Regions from separate parts of the Homo sapiens genome. Here all the other regions are linked to region 1. The links are contacts of gene promoters, found by promoter capture Hi-C in blood cells and fetal thymus (Javierre and others, 2016). All regions are on one chromosome and are shown on one strand. Each heading gives the region's core, a stretch centred on a gene start or on the middle of the fragment in contact. The rest is flanking DNA. Distances are from core to core; before and after follow the strand shown.

The links. Contacts are between HindIII fragments. The CHiCAGO score rates a contact against its expected background, and 5 or more counts as called.
Region 2: a contact is called between a fragment that was not itself captured here and the fragment with the promoter of GYS2 in region 1, in 1 of 17 cell types (total CD4 T cells). The highest score is 5.1, in total CD4 T cells.
Region 3: a fragment that was not itself captured here is called in contact with the fragment with the promoter of GYS2 in region 1 in 2 of 17 cell types (non-activated CD4 T cells and naive CD4 T cells); the score reaches 7.9 in non-activated CD4 T cells.
Region 4: a contact is called between a fragment that was not itself captured here and the fragment with the promoter of GYS2 in region 1, in 3 of 17 cell types (total CD4 T cells, non-activated CD4 T cells and naive CD4 T cells). The highest score is 10.0, in total CD4 T cells.

What each region holds. Positions count from the first base shown.
Region 1 is chr12:21,601,375-21,607,180 of GRCh38, forward strand. It overlaps GYS2 (glycogen synthase 2), which reads right to left and starts at 3,473. Exons shown (of 16, transcript NM_021957.4): 1 at 3,098-3,473. The coding sequence starts at 3,218. The HindIII fragment of the contact is 12,472 bases long and covers 1-4,243 here.
Region 2 is chr12:22,504,334-22,510,139 of GRCh38, forward strand. C2CD5 (C2 calcium dependent domain containing 5) reads right to left here. Exons shown (of 27, transcript NM_001286176.2): 10 at 2,378-2,486. Among named protein-coding and RNA genes, the nearest start is that of C2CD5, 37 kb to the right of the region's middle. RefSeq lists a silencer at 1,602-1,896. The HindIII fragment of the contact is 611 bases long and covers 2,555-3,165 here.
Region 3 is chr12:22,473,086-22,478,891 of GRCh38, forward strand. C2CD5 (C2 calcium dependent domain containing 5) reads right to left here. Exons shown (of 27, transcript NM_001286176.2): 15 at 5,228-5,392; 16 at 1,666-1,806. Among named protein-coding and RNA genes, the nearest start is that of C2CD5, 69 kb to the right of the region's middle. The HindIII fragment of the contact is 714 bases long and covers 3,055-3,768 here.
Region 4 is chr12:22,455,279-22,461,084 of GRCh38, forward strand. It overlaps C2CD5 (C2 calcium dependent domain containing 5), which reads right to left. Exons shown (of 27, transcript NM_001286176.2): 23 at 4,214-4,264; 24 at 3,206-3,307; 25 at 1,693-1,883. Among named protein-coding and RNA genes, the nearest start is that of C2CD5, 86 kb to the right of the region's middle. The HindIII fragment of the contact is 418 bases long and covers 3,048-3,465 here.

The sequences.
Region 1 (5,806 bases), core at 2,223-4,722:
ACTCCTTAAGGCTATTAACTCCCCCTGAGCTTCACAATCTAGTCCCTGCAGGTCTCTCCCATCTTCTCTCATACTCCTCTCCTTTTCCCTCTCTGAGCCCCGCTCAGATCTTCGAACAGAGAACACTTCTGCATCTTGGCATATATAGTTCTCTCACATAGAACGCTTTCTCCCCTTTAGCTATTTATCCTTCAAGTGTCAGCTCAAACATCTCATCATTAGAGAGGTTTTTCCCAAACCTCTAGGTAACTAGGTTAGAAACCACTCCCCATTCCACGGTACACTGTATAGTCTTAGGACACCTGGTTCCCTTAGTCTCACACTCATCACATTTGACTGTATTGTATGTTCAATGTCTACCTTCTACAAATTTGTCAATTCTTGAAGATTAAGAATCAGTTCTGTATTCTTAACTCTATCTCCCTCGCCTCTCAGTGCCTGATACCTAATAGACACTTGATGAATCCTTACTGAATAATAAAATGGATTAATGAATAAAAGCAATAAATTTCAAGGTTAATATTAATAAATTAAAAAGGTTATTTTGAAGTCTGAGAATTAGTACCCAAAACTAACTGTGACTCTCTCATCTGTTATGTTTTTCACGTTTCCATTGTTCATGGGCAAAATTCTGGCAGCAAGGGATTCTTCTCCTAAGAAACCTTTTGTTTTCTTGGATGTGAATACATTTCCTTGTTTGCCAGAAAACATGGTAAGATAACTGGAGAGTATAACATTCATTTTATTCATGAAGAAACTGTTATTCAGTTTAAGGGGTTCTTTTTCAGAAAGTTTCAGAAATCCAAGACCTTTGACTGCAAGTACTGTGTTCTTTCATCTATAGGACATTTCCTTTGAAAACTGAGGTTTTAATATTTAATTCTTACATAATAGTAAAAAAGTGAATTGGCCTTGGAAAAGACCTAAATCCTGGTCCTAACTCTGCCATTTGCTTGATCATTAAATACCTCTACGAATCAATTTGCTCTATGAACTGGAGGAGTGGGATTCATGATCTCTAAGATACCTCATATCACTACTATGAAATGCAGGGAAGTAAAAATTCAAATCATTAAATTTAAAGAAACTATAGTGGCAATGTATTATTAGGAATAAACACAATAATTATCCATCTATATGAAAATCTCAAACCATACCAGGCTATGATAATATTAAAATAAAGATACATTGAAGATGATATCAACTTGTGTAAATCACATTGTGGGGACCTCTCCACAAAAACACTTCCCTTCCCCTTGAAAGGGAAATGATAGAAAATAAGTATTAAAGGCAGCTTAGGGGTTGAAAAACAAATTTTTTCAAAAAAAAATCCATTGAGCATTTTCTATGTACCAGGCACTGTTCTAGACCCTGAGATCAACACACATGCTACTGATTATAAGATCCATAAAATAACTTAGTTTCACTGGCGTGTTCCCAGTGCCCAGGTAACAGTGCTCCATTAATGTTTGTTAAATGATGAGAAAAGAGGAAAGCAGAAGGGGCTCTGCTCAGGTGCAGGAACTTGTGCAGAGATCTTCTGGACTGATTCCCAGTGCTAACAAGTCCCTTCCAGTTTTATCCACCAATAAGCTATGTCCTTGAGCTCCTGCCCACTCTCTAGAGAAAACTTTTATTTCAAGGCATACTCCGGGATTCACATGTGATAGAGATGGTTCTGTTCCCAGGAACTTTGGGCATATTTAAAAACTGGACTGGAAAAATTTGTGACTAGAAAAAGGACATTAAAAACACATGCTCATTTCAGGATAAAGATCTCTGAGGAAAAGAATACAAAATAATTTAAAAAGAAACAACAGAAACAGGTACACATAAAATACTTCACTTCTCTGTAATAAGGTTTCTGTCCTCCTAGATTCTTTCTCACTAAACTACAGAGAATAAGACCGTGCTTTGTTCTCTTATATGCATTCTGTCCACTTCTACATAGGCAAAATTGACTTTTAATTTTGATTTTATGAATGCATACACACGAGAACTTTGAACAGTTAGTATAAGGTGAATTCTGATTTTTCAGAATGCATGCCATATATAATGCATTTAATTTTGAGATTATGCTGGCTCTGATTAGCCAAAAGAAGGAAGTAATATATCACATTCTGGTTATTATTTCAGATCCTTTAGATTACTGTAATAGACATGAAATAGTAAACACAAAATGAAAAATAAATGTGTTATATATCACAACACATGACATAATTTCAGATCGTTTAAATCACACAAGTCATCACTGCCATTTACCCAGCAATCAGTTGGCTTGATTCTTCAAGATCTTGAGGAACTCAGCCTTCAAAACCATGACTTTTTCTTTGCTAATGTTCCTTCAATAGTCTTGACACTTTTAAACTAGAGAGTATAAACCCACAAGGAATTGTTTTATAATTTTACAGATGTCTTTATTTTCAAAATCATTTACATTGTGGTTCTCTACCTTGCCTTCTCTTACCCAGCACAGATGAGGTTATACCTCACTCGCAAATTGTTTTATCAATTTGATTTTCTTTATTTTATAATTCCTACATAAGCATAGCATTGAAGAAAAAAATTACTTTCATTCTGAAAGGAGCACAGTATTTTGCCTTTTGAGAAGCTCCTGAATTAAAACATTAATTCCAAGCTAATTGTGAATATGAAACATTCTTAAGCATTTCATATAATTACTAACAGAATGTAGAGTTGAGGTTTCCAACTGGTTCTAATCACATATACATCTTCCTAAAATAAAATGTTTAATTATACTATTTTGCTGAGAAAAATTTTAAAACAAAAAATGTAAATATTAACTTTTTATTTCTATGTTGTCATAATATGGATTTTAAATTTTAATTTAAATGCACATTCCATGGCAATGGCTAATATTTTCAACTTTCTCCCTCTTCAACACATACACAAGTCTGTATTCATAGCCTGTTGTAATAGACAAGGTTAAATGTAGCCTAAATATATATTCCGTTTAAATGCTTTCCTCACTCACTAGCAATTGGTTATCACTAGAGAGTTATCTGTGAAATCTTACTCTACATTCCTCAGTCACCTAGTGAAGGTGTACTGATCCACCTTCAGGAGCAGTACAAACCTTTATTGGTCACTTCCCAAGCAACTTCAAAGAGCAGTAACTCCTCCACAGGAAGTTCTTCGACTTCCCACTGGGGAAGCCCACCCAGGGATGTTACAGAGAGGGATCGGCCTCGAAGCATTCTTCTTACAGTCCTCCGAGACTCCTTTGAATTCCTGTTTCAATTAGTTGTAATCCCAGGAGAAGAGAACTTACAGGCACAAAAGTTAGAGTTGGTAGAGTTACCAGGCTTTGGTAGCTTCTCTTGGGAATAAACTAGTAGCATGAAATCTTATGTGCTTCCCACAGAATTCCTGGTGGAAGGAGGAATTCTTCCTCCTCTTTCTCGTCTTTCTGGGCAGGTATTGTGAGGACGGTATCTGCCCTGTCAGTATCTACCCAAACAATCCAGAGCTGTCAACAGAAAAACCCTCTGATTCAGGACATAGGTAAGCACTTCCTGGGATAGGCAGGGCATGACCCAAGTTCAGCCTTTTAGCCCTTGTCCTTTTGACCAGACTCCTAGATTCATACAGTTACCAATGCTTATTTCATCATTTCCAAAGTGATACAATATTGGCAACTCCCCTCATTAAGTTTGCAGGCCTCCTTAGATTACATGTAGACTGATTGGGACATATTTTTATGCTTTAAATCCCTTTGGATTTCCTAAATATTCTTCTTTCTTTTGATTCCTATTTCTAGAGCTTTTAAAAAATATTCCTAGTTATTTTATTCTACACTTACAAATTGAATTTTGGTGATAGCCAGAGATCTTGAGCCCCCTTTTCTCAATTACTTTTCTTAAAACTTTCCCTATAAAAAAGCATAAATTTGAGTATGTCTTTGGGTGTAACATGAAAAAAAACATAATTTTGACTGGTCAATAATCATCAGTCAATAATTTTAATGAGGTAGTAAAAATAAATCTTTGTCATGTTTGTACATTTCCTTCAAATATTATCAAATTGATAAAGAATAATTCAGTCAATGTAAATGTTCAAACATGGGAAGAAAAATCATCAGGATCAGACTGCAGATAAATGGCATATGTTTGCTTTTCCCTTGTGTTTCTATGTTTGTAAATATATATGTTCCAATTTATTTACACACCCATACACATATATCCTATATTGTACCTACAGAGAGTTGGTGCATTCACAAGCAAGCTTAATTTTGAGCCATCTTTACAGATGTAGCTAAAATCAATATTTTTACATTATTATTCTCTAAAGCAGCAGAACTGAAGCTCATACAAAATATCCTTTAAGTTAGAATTACAATCAGAATTGTAATTTGTTACTTGATAATACTATTTTAGCACCTTTTATTAGGTTTTAAATTATTTTCTATATACTTGGTCTTATAGACTTACACTTATTTTAATGACTCAAGATGGGCAGAACCACATTTCATTATATTACATTAATAAATCTATGTAAGCCAAATAGATTAAATATGTCAGCTTGATGTGGTAGTACACACCTGTTGTTCCAGCTACTCAGGAGGCTGAGGGGGATGAATCACTTGAGCCCAGGAGTTTAAGGCCAACCTGAACAACCACTCTCTTAAAAAATAAAATAAAATAAAAAATTAATTAAAACAAAAATAAATAAATGTCATCTATGATTTTGTGACACAGTTGATTCTTATCTTTGTCCAGAAAAGTACATTTAAGTACATAGTTTGTTATCCATTTGTTTGCGTTGTGAGAAAAAGATTATATGGCTAATAAAAAAAATCAAGTACTAAAATAGAAAACATATGATCCCAAATGATCAAAATGATTGTCTCCTTTATAAAATGGTTTGCTTATGTTCACATAACCTCTGAGAGTCCTGCAAGTGCACATTCCAGTAAAACCAAATCTAAGGACATGTTGACAGGAGTGAGAATGGGATGACAGTGATAGAGTTTCACGTTTGCAGTTTTCTGTTCCAGGAGCCTTGAGATTGGTTCATCCAGTGTCACACAGGCTACAGGAGCACAATGATCCATATTCTCCAGCTTACATGATAAGGCTGAATTATTTATTTGCAATCTGTTCCAGGTATCAACTGCTTAGTTGTGAGTTAGGCACTTGTGGCATCACTTATCTGCTGTGTAAACTTGAGCCAATTTCTTACCTAAGTTTTTGTTTTCTTGATAAAATGGGGATGAGATAATCTATATAAGTCACTTAACATTGTGCCTGGTACTATGCCAACCACTTTAGTAATCTTAGCCTTTTTTATAACACATATGATGGTTTAGTAAAAGCTTTCCCTAATGGCAGAGGTTACCATTGAAAAGGAAAGGGGTAAAAAGAAGGCTTTACTTTTCTTTCATTTTTTTGAAGTTGTACCACCTGTATATATTACCTGATCAAATGCCTAGAGAAAACATTTTTTTCAGAAAAATGACCTTAAGATCAATGAGTATATTTTATAACATCCTAAATGAAAATAAGTAGGATGTAAAATAAAATAAGTAGTATGATTGATTTAATTTTGTGAAAATGTACTCTATACCTCTGTTCATGAAGTATATGTAATAGAAGGCTGGAATAGACATAAACAAAAGACGGGAGGCTACATGTAAAAACTCTTACAATAGTTGTCTTAAACTGGTTGTAATTATGATTGATATTTGTGTGGTATTTTTATTTGTGTTCTACACATTTTCTGCAATAAACGTATACATATATATATATATATATATATATATATATATATATACCGTATATAGGAT
Region 2 (5,806 bases), core at 1,610-4,109, 900 kb after region 1:
TTCTGTTGCCCAGGCTGGAGTGCAGTGGCACGATCTCAGCTCACTACAACCTCCGCCTCCCGGTTTCAAGCAATTCTCCTGTCTCAGCCTCCCGAGTAGCTGGGACTACAGGCGCCTGCCACCAGGCCCAGCTAATTTTTGTATTTTTAGTAGAGACAGGGTTTCACCTTGTTGGTCAGGCTGGTCTCAAAACTCCTGACCTCAGATGATCCACCCGCCTCAAACTGGCTTCCCAAAGTGTTGGGATTACAGGCGTGAGCCTCCGTGCCCAGCCCAAAATGTTTTTCAGTAAGCAGAAGACATCTAGTAATTAAATATACTCCTGAAACCATGTTTCGAACTATCAGATCAGTGGGTGCCATCTATTAAAATATTTGAGTCAATGGTCCATAGAAACACAGGTAACTAGCCTTGGGTCACAAGGGTGATGTCAGGTATTTTAACTCAGTATTTCCTTGCATTTTCCAAATAATTCAAGTTCCTTAACACAAAGATATAGAATTTGGCATAGTCTTCAAGATCCCAATACATTAAACTGGCATCAGTCTGAATTTTTCTTAAGTACTGTACACAAATACTACAATGGAGAAAACATCTTATATTGACCACAAAAATAAGAAACGGGGGGAAAAAAAACTAAAGAAGGGGAAAAAAAGAGAAAACCAGTGCTTAGAAGATGCATTTGCCCAGTTTTAGAGTTAAATAATCCTGACTCGCACTGTTTTTCTGAAATCTCATTCAGGGTCCAGAGAATTCTAGTCTTCTTCTCTGAAATAAACTCAAATGACATCAAACTACAGGGCATAAATTAAACTTTAAAAAAATTTTAAAAAATAGTAATGCTCTGTATCCTCAAAAATAGTCATTATCTACAATATTTTGGTCCAATAACTTCAAAGCATTTTTACCCTTCTTTCTTTCTTTTTTTTTTTTTTTTTTTTGAGACAGAGTTTCGCTCTTGTCGCCCAGGCTGGAGTGTAGTGGCACAATCTCGGCTCACTGCAACCTCCACCTCCCGGGTTCAAGCAATTCTCTGCCTCAGCTTCCCAAGTAGCTGGGATTACAGGTGCCTGCCACCACGCTCAGCTGATTTTTGTATTTTTAGTATTTTACAGGCATGAGCCACTGTGTCCGGCCACCCTTCTTTTTATAGCTGTCAATACAAGCCTCACAAAGAGGTCACTGGATGTGACAATTTAAAATTTTCAAAAATATATACGTCTATACACCAAATAAGAATACTAATATAACTTCAGGTTTAATGTATGTTGATTGAGCATCTAGTCAATGAGAGATGCAAGAACACATTCCATATGGAAAGTTCCCACTATTCATCATGCTTATTTTAGACGTAGAAAAATCACCAGAGGATTTCTGATCAAAGGGCCTGAATCCAGTGGGACTTTGATGCCTACTCGCTTTTATAATTATGGTCCTATGTTTTAAAGAAGTAAGCTACTATTCTTACTCGTTTGCTTAAACATAACAAATAGCTACATAAAAGAAACTGAAGGACCAGATGTTAGTTTGCTCATCTGTTTTTCAATTCTTAGCTACTCTAGACAACGCCTACAATTACTTTGTTGCCCATGCTGGATTCCACCAATGACAGAGTGGAATCCCAGCACAGTGCTGGGATCTGGGTTCTGTGTCTCCTGAGTGCTGCCTGGGTAGACTGGAGGGGACAGGTGGCCGTGGTCAAAGACAGTCCCAGTGTGTTCAAGTTACACAATGAGCTCTAAGAAATGACAGCTCCAGTAGCCTGCTCAGCAAGAGGGTCTTTGACCCATGGACTGGTTTGGTTCCCTCTGCTACCTATCTGTTCCTATGACACCCACAGTGTTTACATAGGTCTTGTTGTGTTGCCCAGGTTGTTGCCCAAGTCTGGCTATGTTGCCCTGGGCTCAAGCGATCCTCCTTGCCCCGGCCTCCTGAGTAGCTGGGACAACAGGCACATGCTACTGTGCCCAGCTTTACAATTACATTTTTAAAAATACCTGTTTTAAGAACAAGGAAAATAAGTAATCTATAAAAAGCTACTGCTAATGAAAAGAACTAACATCTTAAACTAATGGCCATAATGGTCAATTTATAAAAATGTTTATCTCCCCTGGGTCAAAGAAAAGTTATTTAAGGATTTCCTTAAAGTGATATTGTGACCAAAAATAAATCAATTGGTTTTTTACAGAAAAGTAACTAAAATACACTTAGTTTATTTATAATTAAGATGACTACAAATATATTAAAGTAACGTGCTAGTTTATACTTTCTTTTCATTTCTCTTTTCAGTTAGATTTGGCTTTAAAAAAATCATAAAAATCAATTTTAATAACCACAATTTAAATAAAGGAAACATTGAAACTTTTTAAGAACATACCAGGATTGTGGATACGATCCAAAAGCTTCACAGAACGTGCACTAACTACACCCCCAACGTGTACAAGGAATCCAGGAGGAAATGCCGTCAAGGTAAAAAATGGAAATTCCTAGTGGAAAGAATAAGGGAAAAATACAACTTATCGTGTGTAGAGTGTAAAAAATTTGCTTATTAAAAAGCTTGCCATAGCAACTGTATTACATCCCTTGAAATAAAAGGCCACCCATTACACATCACACATGCTTTGTAATTAAAAGTTTAATTAAATGTTTAGAGTTTCAAATCCATTTCCCCATATATACAATGTTATACAGAATCCAAAGACCCATTTCATCAGTTCTCAATGAAGAAAAAAAAAGTGTTCCTTCAATTTAAGATATTTGAAACACACTCTTCCTTCCTCTGAATCTCCAACTCTGATGGAACTTCTCAATGAGATGAGGGAACTGCCCTATCCCTCTTCCCCTTTATCTATCAGTGGTTTAGACACCCCCTTCACATGAACACCCAGTATAAGACACTGGTAAAGACTCTAAAAACCTGGGGCCAAGGGATCTAAATGAAAGTGGGACCAAAGGAGGATAAGTGAGAGGATAAGCAGTGTGGGTTAAGAGAAAGAGGATAGTGGCAAATATCAAGTTGAGATGGGTAGAGAATCATTGTGTGAGGTTACTCTATCAACACCAATGTGGCAGGAACAAATACAAGTGCATAAAGGTACATTAAGGAAAGTTGAAAGGTACATAGATAACAGCTAGGAAGGCAATAAAATTCCACAAGTTCTTGCAAGCTTTATTCTATCCTTCTCTCTTAAAGAATAAAATTCATCAACTTAGAGACAAAGAGAAACACAAAAAAGACAAATGAAAAAGCCAAGAAAGGAAATTCATTGAAATAGGACCCAATAAGAAAACGGAGCTCCTGTGAAAACATGGAGGCCCCTCACATTACACAAATTGGATGCAAGTAAGGAAAACTTGATGTTTGACCTGTCTGGCTGCAAGATTAATGTAGCTCACTTAACTGGAATCACTTACCAGTAGCCTCAGCTATTTAGAACATAATTGAGCATAATTGAGAAAAATAAGCAAAACAGGGCTCTCAACGGTCAAAAGAACTGTTACGGTCTCAAGCTCTAAAGCTCATATACTTTATTCATAGGAGACTCCCACAGATCATATTCATACTATATTATAGTAGTTATAAATTTTTATCTTAAAAAGAAACAACTCTAAAATTTATCATGATCTCATTTTCAAGACCACCTCAGATTAAATGCAACAAATAAAAGCTGGTAAAGAGATACAGAATACCACCAGAAGCAGGCTTATTAAAAGCAGCAAGAATTATTCACTGGCTGCTTCAAGCATGGAGAATACAAACTCACAAAAGCATGATCACAAAGCACGGCAACTTGGAATCATTTTGCACAAAAGCTATCAGTCCTGTGCACCTCAGTAACCCATGAAGGTTGAGTATAAAAAAGTTTCTAAAATTTATTTAGAAATAAATTCAGTTCAAATTTAGAAGTAATCTTTAAACAAGAGAAAGAAAAATCTATGCTATGTAAGAAAAGAGTAAAAAACTGGTCTATGGAAGTGGTTAGGTATAGCCCAGCAGAAAGGTAGAGGGAAAATAAGGAAGAGGATGGAAGGAGAGTACGTCACTTATAATAAATGTATTATAATATGTTTAGTCAAAATGCATCCTTATTTCCATTTAAACTTCTTTTTCTGTCCTCTAAGTTTTGTTCCTGGAAATCTAATAAAAATTGTACAAACTAGAGGATTACCTCATAATGAATTCATATTTATTATTAGGAAATTTGAATGTAAATGAAGTTTTGAGTCATAAAAATATTCGAATGGATTTATTGTTAGGCACAGCACACACGGGGTAATTACACAATATAAGTATTAAGAAAGAAGTTGGGAAAACAGTTCGGTAATCACTGAGCAAGTACATTTGAACTTTGTAAATGTGAGTTTTAAATGAGAAACGTATAGGTAAGCTTATATTATTAATAATGTAGTTAGGTCTTTCAGATTTTTTTTTCAGTGTTAGGATCACTTAAATTTTAATATTTCCTCAAAATATCTGAGGCATGTGGTGGTCTCACAGAATAAAAAATCACTTTATATGTAATCTTTATACTTAAATCTTTTTTTTTTTTTTTTGAGACGGAGTCTCGCTCTGTCGCCCAGGCCAGACTGCGGACTGCAGTGGCGCAATCTCGGCTCACTGCAAGCTCCGCTTCCCGGGTTCACGCCATTCTCCTGCCTCAGCCTCCCGAGTAGCTGGGACTACAGGCGCCCGCCACCGCGCCCGGCTAATTTTTTGTATTTTTTTAGTAGAGACGGGGTTTCACCTTGTTAGCCAGGATGGTCTCGATCTCCTGACCTCATGATCCACCCGCCTCGGCCTCCCAAAGTGCTGGGATTACAGGCGTGAGCCACCGCGCCCAGCCTTAAATCTTTTAAATATCTAGACAAGAGATACTGAAAATAACATTTTTGTAAGCTAAATGGAAGATAGTACTTCCTTTTTCCTTCTAAAGAAATAGGTAAATTATGTATTAGAAAATATTTTCATATAAGATTTTACATAAGTATGAATAAATGAACCTAAATGACTTCTCAATTCAGGGTTCTTTACCCTTCTCCCCAAAGTTCTTTGTTTGGGATAAAGAAACGAGGGCAAGCATTGTACTAGAGCTGGTCAGAAAGAAACACACAGGGCGATGGCTGCCCATTGAGGCCACGACCCACTCTCCACCTCACATGTCCCCAGTTCACCTAATCGGCACACCAATTCACTCTAAAACACAAAATTTAACCTATAATAAATAAAAATGTCATTGTTATTTAACCAAAACTCCGTCTTCATACAATTCTCTCATGAGAAGAGCTACTGCTGAAATCTATAGCAGATTGTTAAGTACCTATCATCACCACCATAACTAGCAACTACTGTCAAGTACTTCTATGTGCCAGGCCCTGTAGCTTGTGCTGTATAACCTTTCCCATATGAGGGAAGTACTATTATCTCCATTTTTTATATGAAAAACTGAAGTCAAAAGGGCCTTTTATTCCTAGATTCTTTATAAGCAACAAACTTTATCATCTGGTTTCACTGTCATTTAGAGTTAAGGATTTGATTTTATTACACCTGATGAATTTATAGATTTTTCTTCTGTTTAAAAGAATAGCTTCTGCCGGGCACAGTGGCTCACGCCTGTAATCCCAGCACTTTGGGAGGCTGAGGTAGGTGGATCACCTGAGGTTAGGAGTTCAAGACCAGCCTGGTCAACATACTGAAACCCCGTCTCTACTAAAAATACAAAAATTAGCCAGTTGTAGTGGCGGACGCCTGTAATCCCAGCTACTCAGGAGGCTGAGGCAGGAGAATTGCTTGAACCCTGGAGGCGGA
Region 3 (5,806 bases), core at 2,162-4,661, 870 kb after region 1:
TAAGCAATCATTATTCTAATTTGTTTAAATTAATAAAGTGTAATGAGATCCTTTCACTAAATGCAGAACTCCTTTACAATGGAATTAGGTACAGATAAATTTAAAGACATATCTAATAATAGGTCTAAACTCTATTTTTTTAATAAAATAAATAGGTCTAAATTCTATTCTTCTTACATCACCATATTCCACTGTGAATAATAAATAGGGAAACTATCCAGCTGGACAGGCGCTGACATTCATCTGCACCTCAGTTTCTAAGTCCTAACCTGCAGACTCGCTAAGCTTCTTCCCACATCACCCTCAGGACTTCAAGAACCACTTTCACTTCCACTTCACGTGGCTACCCACAGTCACAGCCATACCTCAACCCATTATTCCCCAAAACGTTCCACACCCAGGATCTCGAGCATTCTCCAACTACAGTCCTGTCTCTTTGTCCTCTCTTACTGGATATTCCACTTGCCCTCTGTCCTCTGCCCATGTTTGAAGCACTTTGTTCTCATGTGCCTCTCTACTTAGCCAGGATCCCAAGATCAGACTTATCAATAATGCCCTAGATCAAACTTCAGGTAATGTTTGGCATCACCTGGAAAGTTTGTTAAACAGATTCCTGGGCTCCACCTTGAAATTCTCATCTACTAGGTCTGAGGTAGGGGCCCAAGAATTTGCATTTCTTACAAGCTCCCAGGTAGAGCTGACGCCACAAGTAGGCACATCACACTTTGAGTAGCATTGCTGTAAATAGTACCCTGGAACTTTTAACCTCCTTGACCTGAGATATTTTCCATGACATATTTTCCATTCTCAGACTGTAGAGAAATGTGGGGAAAAAGTGGGGGGCAAATAACCATATAAGTTGAGTTTTCTACAAACTGACACTCTCACCTTGGTTAGGCCTGTGCGTCTCTCATAGATCCTTGTTACAGCCACTGGCACCGTTCCTGACTCTTTAAACCTCCAATCCCATCCCAACACAATTCTACCACCAGCTTCCTGCTACACCAAGATCAAAGCATCTGATTTTTCTCTCTCTCAACTTACATCTTAATCATTTATTTTCCTTTCCTTCAATATGAAAAAGAAAAATCTATCTCTTTGGGAGCTAACCATTCTACAGGGGAGTGCAGAGGAAGCAGATCTGTGAGGAAGGAGTCTCCATAAACTTTTCATGTGACATTTACTCTCTGGGAAAGTTACTAAAGTGTTCTTAGTATCTTTTTATAAAGATGGATCAATTATACCTTTTGAATTCAGTAAGAAAATACTACACTCAGAATTCACAGTGATTATACTAAAAAATGTTATAACTACAGTAATATACAAAAAAGGTAATAATTATAGTAAGTTAAAGAATGGCACTTCATTTAAATTCATTCAAGTTTACAAAAATAACTTCAAAGGTTTAATACTATTCTATCATTATTTCAACCCATACATTAACTTTTTCAGAACCATCTGCATTATTGTATCAGTGACCTGGTATTGAACAAACATATGTTACCAAGTTCTGTTATTTTCAAGTTTGTTGTATTTTTATATAATAACTTTTTAAATATTTATAACAGTTGTAATGATATAAAAGTATCATATTAATTTAGCACGTGAAAAAATGTGTATCTTAGCTTCCAAAACCTTTAAGAAATTAGTCCAATGCCACATTACCTCCAAAACAAAAGCATCTTTTTTCCCATGTGAAAGGTCTAATTCTGTAACTTCATCCGAGCTTTCTGATTGAGATCTTAGAAGTCTTGAGCGTTGCCTAGGTTCTGGGATGGGTGATCCTATAATCTCTTCAGATATCTCCTAAAAGAAATATAATTGTTTTATATCATATGAGATTGTCTTTTCCAGTTTAAATTTTACATCTTTATATTAGTAGACACCTACCTGTGGAGAAAAAGCCTGTAAAATATACTCAGTGAAGTCCGTACTTAAGTATAACCTTTAAAACTAAACTTTTATAGCAGATATGGCAGCCTTAATGATACACGAATCAGAAAAATATATATAACTGTCACAGACATAACAAGATAAAACTGACATCTAGTGTACACACAGGACACTACAATGTGTATGGAATTGGCAGTCCTTACAGCTCTGAAATCCAGTACTGCTGTGTGTGCATATTTTCTATTCAGCATTATAAAAGTCCTAATAGGCCTTAAAAATTTAAAGACTTATGTTCCTAGAAAGAATTCTAATCTTTTATATATTTTCTTATCCACTTTCAAAGCTCCATATAGCAAAATGTGAAATATGATCAATGTATGAGTATGAATACATATATACTTATACTATGCACATATTTGCTATTCAATTTATTAAGCTAAATAAACATTGGTACTTACAATAATGATCTTTTTAAGGTCAGTGTATGGTGCAATACTGTATGGCTTAGTGAGCTTTTTGCTGTTACATAGCCAAAGATCACTAGGGGTTCTAAGTGTCTGTCGGCCACAAGGAATGCTGGAAGAATATGAATACGTGAACGCAAAAGCAAAAGCCATAGCCTATTGCTGATGCAACAGAATTGTCTTTTTAATAAACAAGGAAATTGTACATAAAATTTTTCAAAAATATATAGTTTTAAATGTTCATTGGTAGTATGCACCTTAGATAAAAGACTACCACTGCACAATTTCATAATGTAATGATCTATGGAGCACTTTCACATCAATTTATCTTATTTGTACTCCAAATTAATCTGCCCTCTATAAAGTTAACATTATAATAACTACAAAATGGAAAAGAGCTGTAATTCAGAAGTAAATTAGTAGTCTGCCTAAATTTGGAAAACTAGCAAGTGTAGAGCCAGTCTAGGTCAGTCTTTTGACACACAGTGCAACGTTATTCCCACTAGATACCACACTACTTTTTATAATTTTACAATAGTTTTAAATTCTGTTATGCCTTTGTTCACAATGCCACAGACTTAACAAATATAACTGTCTGGTATTTAATATGTTCTAGATTCATACTGAAATTTCATCACTAGTACTGTTATTCTGAGAGATGTGCATCTTATTTTGATACCTTTGATTATCTCCATAAAGCTTAAGTGGTACTACACCTTTGTATTAGAAACATTTTTTAATGTATTGACAAAAAATTTAAACAGCAGCATTTATTTCAGTGAGGGCTATCATCCTAAGAGAAGGAACACTCTGATCTACATATTCAGGGTGGACATAACACAACACTGTAATGTGTATAGTGGCCTGGTAATCAACCTTGTACACTGACTCTGTCAAAAAAAATGCTGAGAGATTATGCTAAAAGACTATAATGTAGTCAGTATCTACAATAAGGAAAGACATATTAGAAGATGCATAAACTGATGAGTACTGTTGTGAAAATACAGTCATCCTCAACACATGAAATTCATATATGTTAAAATTTTTAAAATCATAATAGATTTACTCCCTCCTTCCAAATGTAAACTGTATGACACATAGTAGCAGCTCAATAAGTACTGAATGGATGAAGTAACTTAATTCATAGTCTTATTTAAACACATCCCTGTCTCCAAAGGGCTTACATTATAGTAAAGGAAGACAGATATATAAAAACTAAGTACAATAATATGTAACAGTTTCTATACAAGTACATACAGGTACAACAAGTACACAATGGAGGAAGAGTCCATTCTTCCTGTTAGAGGTCAGGATGGATTTACAGAGGTGAGAAACACTATTAAGTAAGTAAAAAAGTTCAGCTCATATCATTAGAAATAATAAATGAAGAATATATGAAACCCTAACACAAAGCTTTACAAATCATTTTTCCCAAGTGGCATACTATAAACAGATGTTCAAATATCAAAATATAACTACCAAATAAAAATAATGTACTATAAAAATAAGCAGTCAGTAGAGTGGTGCACAGAGAACTTTTACAAAGTCTATTTTTCAAATATGAATATGTTAACACATCAACATTTGCATTCATTTTAAAGAAGCCCTAAGTCAGTATTGTTCAATAGAAATATAAAGCAAGCCACATACATAATAAAGTAAAAAGAAACAGATAAAATCCATTTTAATAAAACATTTTATTTCATTCAGTATATCCAAAATATTAAATTTTTGACACAAAATCAATACAAAAATATTCATATTTTACACTACTTTTTCACAGTAAATCTTTAAAATCCAGTGTATATTTTATACTTACTACACATTTCAATTCAGACTAGTCACAAGTCCTCAAAAGTCACATGTGGCCAGCGGCTACCACAGTGAATAATGAATAGTGCAGCTGTAGGTCATAACCTTAAAATTCCTCCCAAATTAACAACTATGCTAGAATAATATGATGAAAGCTATACATGTGACGCAACAATCCAGACACACTGTTCCAGAAGACCAGCCAAAATTAGATAAGACGTTTAAAATAATAAAAGCAATAATGTTATACTTTCTTTTTTTATTTTTTTAATTATACTTTAAGTTTTAGGGTACATGTGCACAATGTGCAGGTTTGTTACATATGTATACGTGTGAATGTTATACTTTCCTTTTGTGAAAGTCTTTCATTATCAGAGACTCATAAAAACAAATAGTTTCATTCTAATTCCAACCCATTTTTCTTTCAATTCAGACTCTTGCCATCAGTCATCCACAGAGGAGGCAGCATTGTGATACTTATTGCAAAGTTGGTAAAAAGACTGATTAAAGGAAATGACTGGGAGCAAATTTGTAAAAAAAGAAACTGTAACTGAAAAACTATATTCTTTCACATTTTTACCACCAATAAGAATCTCTTTTTACTAACAAAGAACATTTTAAACCATTTATTTCATCATTCAACAAATACTAAGAGACTACCACCAATAGGAACTTTTCTAGGCAATAGAAACAAAGCCCTCATGAAGCTTCATTCTACCAGTACTAACAGGCAAAAGACCAACAAAACACACACACTCACACACACACACACACTCACACACACACACACTCACAAAGATAAGAGCTATAGAAAACAATAAAAGAGGGAAAAGTCATAGGAAGTGGCAAAAATGAAGTCACAATTTTTAAATAGGATCGTTAGAGTAGGCTTACCCGAAAAGGAGACAGTTGAGCAAAGACATAAAGGGAGGTGAAAGAATGAGTAATAAGGAGAGCTAAACAGTGAAAAAAAAATCTTGTGTCCTCAATAAGATAACCTAAAAATATACTAATAAACAATAACTGATACATTCACAATGTAGGTTTGTTTTACTTACTGGAGGATTGATTTCATATAACTCTTTGTTTTTAGCAATTGTGTCATTTATCTTCTTCTGCATATGAGAGATGTGTTGTTCATATGAGCCATCATTAGGAGTCTTCCCAGCAATCTGAATACCACCAGGAGTTGGTAAAGCTGCTAAATACACACCTGTGGCAGACTTGTAAAAAATAATGGGGAAATAATCAGAAAAAATATCTACAGAATAACAGTCCTTAAGTTTTCATATTTAAGAATGTGGTCAACAGCTGGGTGCAGTGGCTCACACCTGTAATCCCAGTACTTTGGGAGGCCAAGGCGGGCAGATCACTTGAGGTCAGGAGTTTGAGACCAGCCTGGCCAACAAGGTGAAACCCCGTCTCTCCTAAAAATACAAAAATTAGCCAGGTGTAGTGGTGTGTGCCCATAATCCCTGCTACTCAGGAGGGTGAGGCAGGACAATCACTTGAACCCGGGAGGCAGAGGTTGCAGTGAGTCAGGATCATGCCTCTGCACTCCAGCCTGGGCAACAGAGCAAGACTCTGTCTCAAAAAAAAGAAAAAAAGGGAAAAAAAAACAAGAATGTGATCTTTGC
Region 4 (5,806 bases), core at 2,007-4,506, 850 kb after region 1:
CACAGTAGCTACAGAGGATTAATTTTAAAAATATTAATTAACTGTAAGAAAACGACTCAGGCAATTAACACATTTGGGATATGGTGCTACACAATTATTATTATAAGTTTCTGTTGAAGGAAAACCTACTAAGAAGCAACATTTTGAGGTATGGGAGCTTAAGTAGTCAAGAAGGCTTAGGAAATACAATTTTATGGATTCAAAATAGTGTAATATCCATGTGCTACCAAGAGCAAGTAGAAAAGGTTAATTCATAATATATGCCAGCTTTTCGCACCAAATCTTTGTCAAATTTAAATGGATGTAGAAGTATCATCTATTTTAATTCTCTATCCAAAGGCTTTTGAGAATATCTTCATAGTTTATTTTTCATCTTAACGTAATTAAGAGTGATATAAAAACTAATTTATCTTTTTTGGGGGGAAGGATAGAGTCTCACTCTGTCACCCAGGCTGGAGTGCAATGGCGCAATCTCGGCTCACTGCAACCTCCACCTCTCAGGTTCAAGCAATTCTCGTGCCTCAGCCTCCTGAGTAGCTAGGATTACAGGCATGTGCCACCATGCCCGGCTAATTTTTGTATTTATAGTAGAGAAGGGGTTTCGTCATGTTGGTCAGGCTGGTCTCAAACTGCTGGCCTCAAGCAATCTACCCGCCTCAGCCTCCCAAAGTGGTGAGAATATAGGCGTGAGCCACTGTGCCTGGCCTAATTTACCTTAAAGAAAACATCCATCTAATTAATTAAATAATCTGTCAGAAGCTATTCATTTATTTGCACAAAAACATATTGTGTTTATTCCATGCCAGCTACTGTGCTAGGCGCAGGATGGTGAGTATGATATTAAAGACAGTGTGCAGGCTGTTATTCCTAAGAAAGTATAGAAATACTGCTGGTGAAGAAGGGCACAGCTAAGTCATCTTTATAATGAATATACTTTTTAAAAATACAAACTGCAGCTGAAGTAAAATTTGAAAAGGTTATTGGATGTCACACCTCAGTAACTAAAAAATTTCCCTATTCACCATATTAATTTGCTTGGTAGCCCCTGTTCCTTAACATATGACACAACGTAATTTTTTTAAGTTTAAATTCCTGTGTTATAAAAGATATAACAGGCTGACTCTGATTCTGAACTTTTCCCACATCAAGTAAAATATTACAACTTGTTATTTAAAAACCAAATTAAAGTTTAATGATACTCAGTGTGAGGTAAGACTGAAGAAATGTCATCCTCATACACTAACTGAGAGAGTAAAAAATGAGCAGCTTCATTCCTTTCTCAGGAGGAAGAAACAGCAGAGCTAAATTACATAAAGTATCTCCTTAGACATGTATCTGTAATACAGTCCTCTACTATTTCTAAATGTGATCTGTCAAAAATTGCTAAATTACTGAGGAAACGAAGCTGTTCTTTCAGGGCTATTTTAAACTTCTATTTGAACACAGATATTTGTTTTATTTACTATATGATAAGGTTCTAAGATTTCTAACAATAAATAGGTTTAAAACTAACACAATTCTTGTGATAATCCTCGCTGCTAAATGAAATAAACTCTAGACTCAATCCAGATAATTAAAATATAAATAAATATTTGTAAGTTTTTGGCAAAAAATAACAATTTGAAACTTAGTTTTGTTACTAAATCTTCAGAGAAAATTTTTTAAAAAATGAAATAACTTCTATAAAATTACCTCCCGAAGAGAAGTAGTCTCTCGAATAAAAAACATGTTAATTATCCCAAGATACTTAGTTATTTTTGCTCCAGGAATAAAAGAAAGAGGTGTCATCTTAACAACCCCAACTGTGGAATTTGCACAAGGTGGAGCAGAACGATTCCGGAAATTTCCATCACCCACTGGACTTGCTTTTTCAACTGTCATGGCTAAAATTGGAGAAAAATGAGAAAACATTCAGAACAGACGCTGGTAACACAATTATTCCCTGAGGTTTCCAAATAAGTGGTGACAACATTCAGCTGTCTGTGAGGCTAAGCCATGTCATGAAAGAAAAGAAATTATCATGCACTGCATGCAATTAAAAAAGAGAGACAGAAAAACATGAGAGGAAATGCTGGAATGGAATTCTTTTGGAAGAAAAATGGCATTCCTGCAAAAGAAAATGTTGATGCAGTATAGCTACACACACAATGATTGGTTATAAAGTGAAGAAAAAGAAAAAGCGGCTGAGCATTAAAATTATCTGCTGTAGGAACAAATTATTACAAGGAGAGTGTGAAAGTTGTTCTATTTCCCAGTGCAATTTTTCCATCTTTTTCAGACGACTTCATCATTGTCAACTTGTAGATAAACCTTATGTTATCTAGTTGTAAGATACTGGTTTTTTCCAAACCTTTTTGAAAACCAACTCATAATTTTAAAAGCTTAACGACCTCTGCTAGCTAAAAGTTGGTTGTTTATAAAGTAAAAAAATAATAGCTACCACTTATTAAATAACTGCCATAAGCCAGACATATATATATATATCTAATCCTTACAACCACCCAAAAACACAGGTTATCATCATCATCCCCATTTCATGCATGAGGAAATGGAAGGTTAGAGAAGTTAAGTAACTTGCCCAAGGTCTCATAGCTATTAAAATGGCACTTCTAGGATTCAGAACCAGATCTGGCTGGTTTCACATCCTATATTATTTCCTGTGAAATGTAGTTTTTTCCCCCTTTTAATGTACGGTAAGCTCTTTCACTCAAATATATTTACCTCAAAATTTACCAAAACACATGGCATAAGATAACATATAAGTAATGATTCTGATTCTAGCAGTAAGGTAATAACTACTTTCTCACCATAAATTCTTTATTAGTTTAGCCCTCTGCATATCACACTTAATAAACCGACAGATGCCACATACTAAATAGTACCTTGGGTCCTGGAAGAATGTCTTTTCAATAAGAGAGTTGGCAATTTACTTCCAATTAGAATGATATAATATCTATTTATATACTTTTAAGAATACCTGCACAAAAAGGAAAATTTTAAAAACACAATTCTATAGGTAAAACTAATAAATCTAAAGGCCTTTCAAAAGCTTTTCCTAAATGACCGTTACAGTCTGCAGCTTTCACACTCTAATACATGATGGATTGGCAATGTTATTACTGGGTAGTAAGGTCTAGCTTTCACCACTGGGAAATCAGGGATATGTTTCTCAGATTATCATAATGTGGTAGAAACATCCGCCTACTTGTCTTAATTGATCCACGCCTTATGGTCTGAGCTTTCAGTTTAATGAGCTCTATCCAGCTGCTGCATCTGTCTGCAAAGGAACTGTAATCAACTGACGTTGCTGAAAACACAGACAGAAAACAAAAGAAAAAAACAAAGAAAAAAATATGGATGATGTCTCTTACTCGTCTTAACACTCCTTTCGATGATGTAATTTAACTGTAACTCAGAAAAAGAATGGTCCTTTTCAAGTCAGATAAGAGAGATAGTAAAGAGTCAAGCTTTAGACACTGATTTGTCCAAAACCAAGTTCTCAGTTAGCAGGCTGAGCATTTCTGGTGATGTCATAGTTGTGTGGTCTCCTAGGGAGAGCCTGAGTGGGGTCTAACATAAATATCAATGAAAGGACCACATACTGTGCTTTAACTAACTTTATTTCCTATTCTTCTTAATTTACAATATTTCAGTTGTTTCTATTTTATTTTATAATCAAAGCTTTGTGAATAATTCATTTCCCTAGTTTTACCCTAAAATTTTAAAAAAAGAGAATCAAATGTTGAAGAATATATTTTTAAAAGTTAGTAGTTGACTTATCTGTTATTAAAGTATCTTCTTTCTACAATCAGTAAGAGGAAAACCAAAGGGCCATTTTTGTTAATGTTTTGTTTCCATGTCTGATTTTGGGCAACAAAGCCTCTGATAATATGGGGTCAGGGCAGGTGTGAGCCTCACAAGTTCCCCCTTTTAAAAACAATAACTTTTACTACTGCTAAGCTGGAAAAAAAATTTTAAGGAGCTAAAATTTTATGCTTAGAAACTGGGAAACCATTAACATACTAAAAAATTTAAATATTAGTTTAATTGATGCTTTTAAAAGAACATATTCTACCTACAAAAAAAAAAAAGCCAGATTTTGGTGTCTATTCCATATTGTCCAGTGCATTTTCTTCAATGTCTATAATTTTATGCACCACCAAACTAGAATTTTACACCTTTGGTGACTATTTGCTTAATTAGACAAACTCACCTCTCTGTGCAGCTGGTATACCTGAGTTAGAACTTGCACTCTCCAGGTGTTCTAATAAGACAATATGAACAACATTAGCTCAGATGCTAAGTACAAGCCAGTACCTCTTCTTTGTTATTTGTTAATACCTCTATAAGCCAGAAGAATAGGAGGAAATCTTTATGGCTTCATTGCAAAAGCAAACCAAATAAAAGCATCTAGGTTTAAAATGCAGTTTCTATTGATAAATGAAAACTAGCTCAGTTCATAAATACCATGCCAAAGGAGACTACTTGCTTACTGTAACACAAAAAGAGTTTCAGAAACTTTATAGTCACAAGAAAATATAAACATAGTAACGAATGTGAGTATGATGAAAGCAGGATGTGAGACTAGGCAGAGAAAAGGGTCAATGTGTTGGGAAGAATATCTGAAATGAAACATGGAAGGAAAATGTTTGCTGTGGGGAAGAGTCTATAAGATTACAAATTACAGACAAGATAATGATTATGCTTCACAGATCAGCATAAGCTGCTCCCTAGTCTTAACTCTCACCACCAACTTCTTCATTCGAAGACTTCGATATCAACAGCTCCCTCTGGTGGTATCAAGACTTTGTGAAACTAAAAAATGAGTGATCACAGAGGTAACCAGGAATCCCAAGCCAGTATCACTCCCTTTCCAGTAACCTGACAGTAGCATCCAGAATTTTCCCTGATATTTTTTATTACAGGTATTTAAGGTATTGTACAAATTTAAATAGCACTATAAAAAAACTTCATAACCTATTTTTAATGCTCATGTTCTACCCACATTAGAATATTTAAATTTTTGTTTGAAAGAATTTTACAACTAAAAGAATAGTCCTGCCAATTTAGAAATAACTCATGAAAAGCACTGAGAATAATTCGGTTGGCTTAGTATAGTATAGTTTAAGTATAGATAGATAAATATGTTTTTTCATTTCTACTTAGTGTGTTGATTTTTTGGTAACATTCTTAAATTAATAAAAAAACTTTTCAAAACATTATTTGTACAGAATGTTTCTACCATAGAATGTTGCTGCTAATTGAAAATACAATGCAAGTATCTCACCACACCCCACCAACACAATTTTTTTTTTTGAGACGGAGTTTTCGTCTTGTTGCCCAGGCTGGAGTGTAGTGGCACGGTATCAGCTCACTGCAACCTCCACCTGCCAGCTTCAAGTGATTCTCCTGCCTCAGCCTCCCAAGTAGCTGGGATTACAGGCACCCACCACCACGCCCGACTAATTTTTTTGTATTTTTTGTAGAGATGGGTTTCACCATATTGGCCAGGCTGGTCTTGAACTCCTGACCTCAGGTAATCCGCCTGCCTTGGTCTCCCAAAGTGGTGGGATTGCAGGTATGAGCCACCAAACCTGGCCCACAGTTTTCATAAAGCAACTGACCACTAGCTAATCCTGTAACATATACAGAGCTGATGAATAAAAGGGATCACCAGGTGGGGTCCACGAATGGCCTATGAGGATACCACACTGTGGACATGCCCTGACCATCATGCTCACTGACTGGAGATCTAGATAGGAAAAGTCCTCCTGATTCAGGATCTTGAGAGACTTTGGAAGTCTAG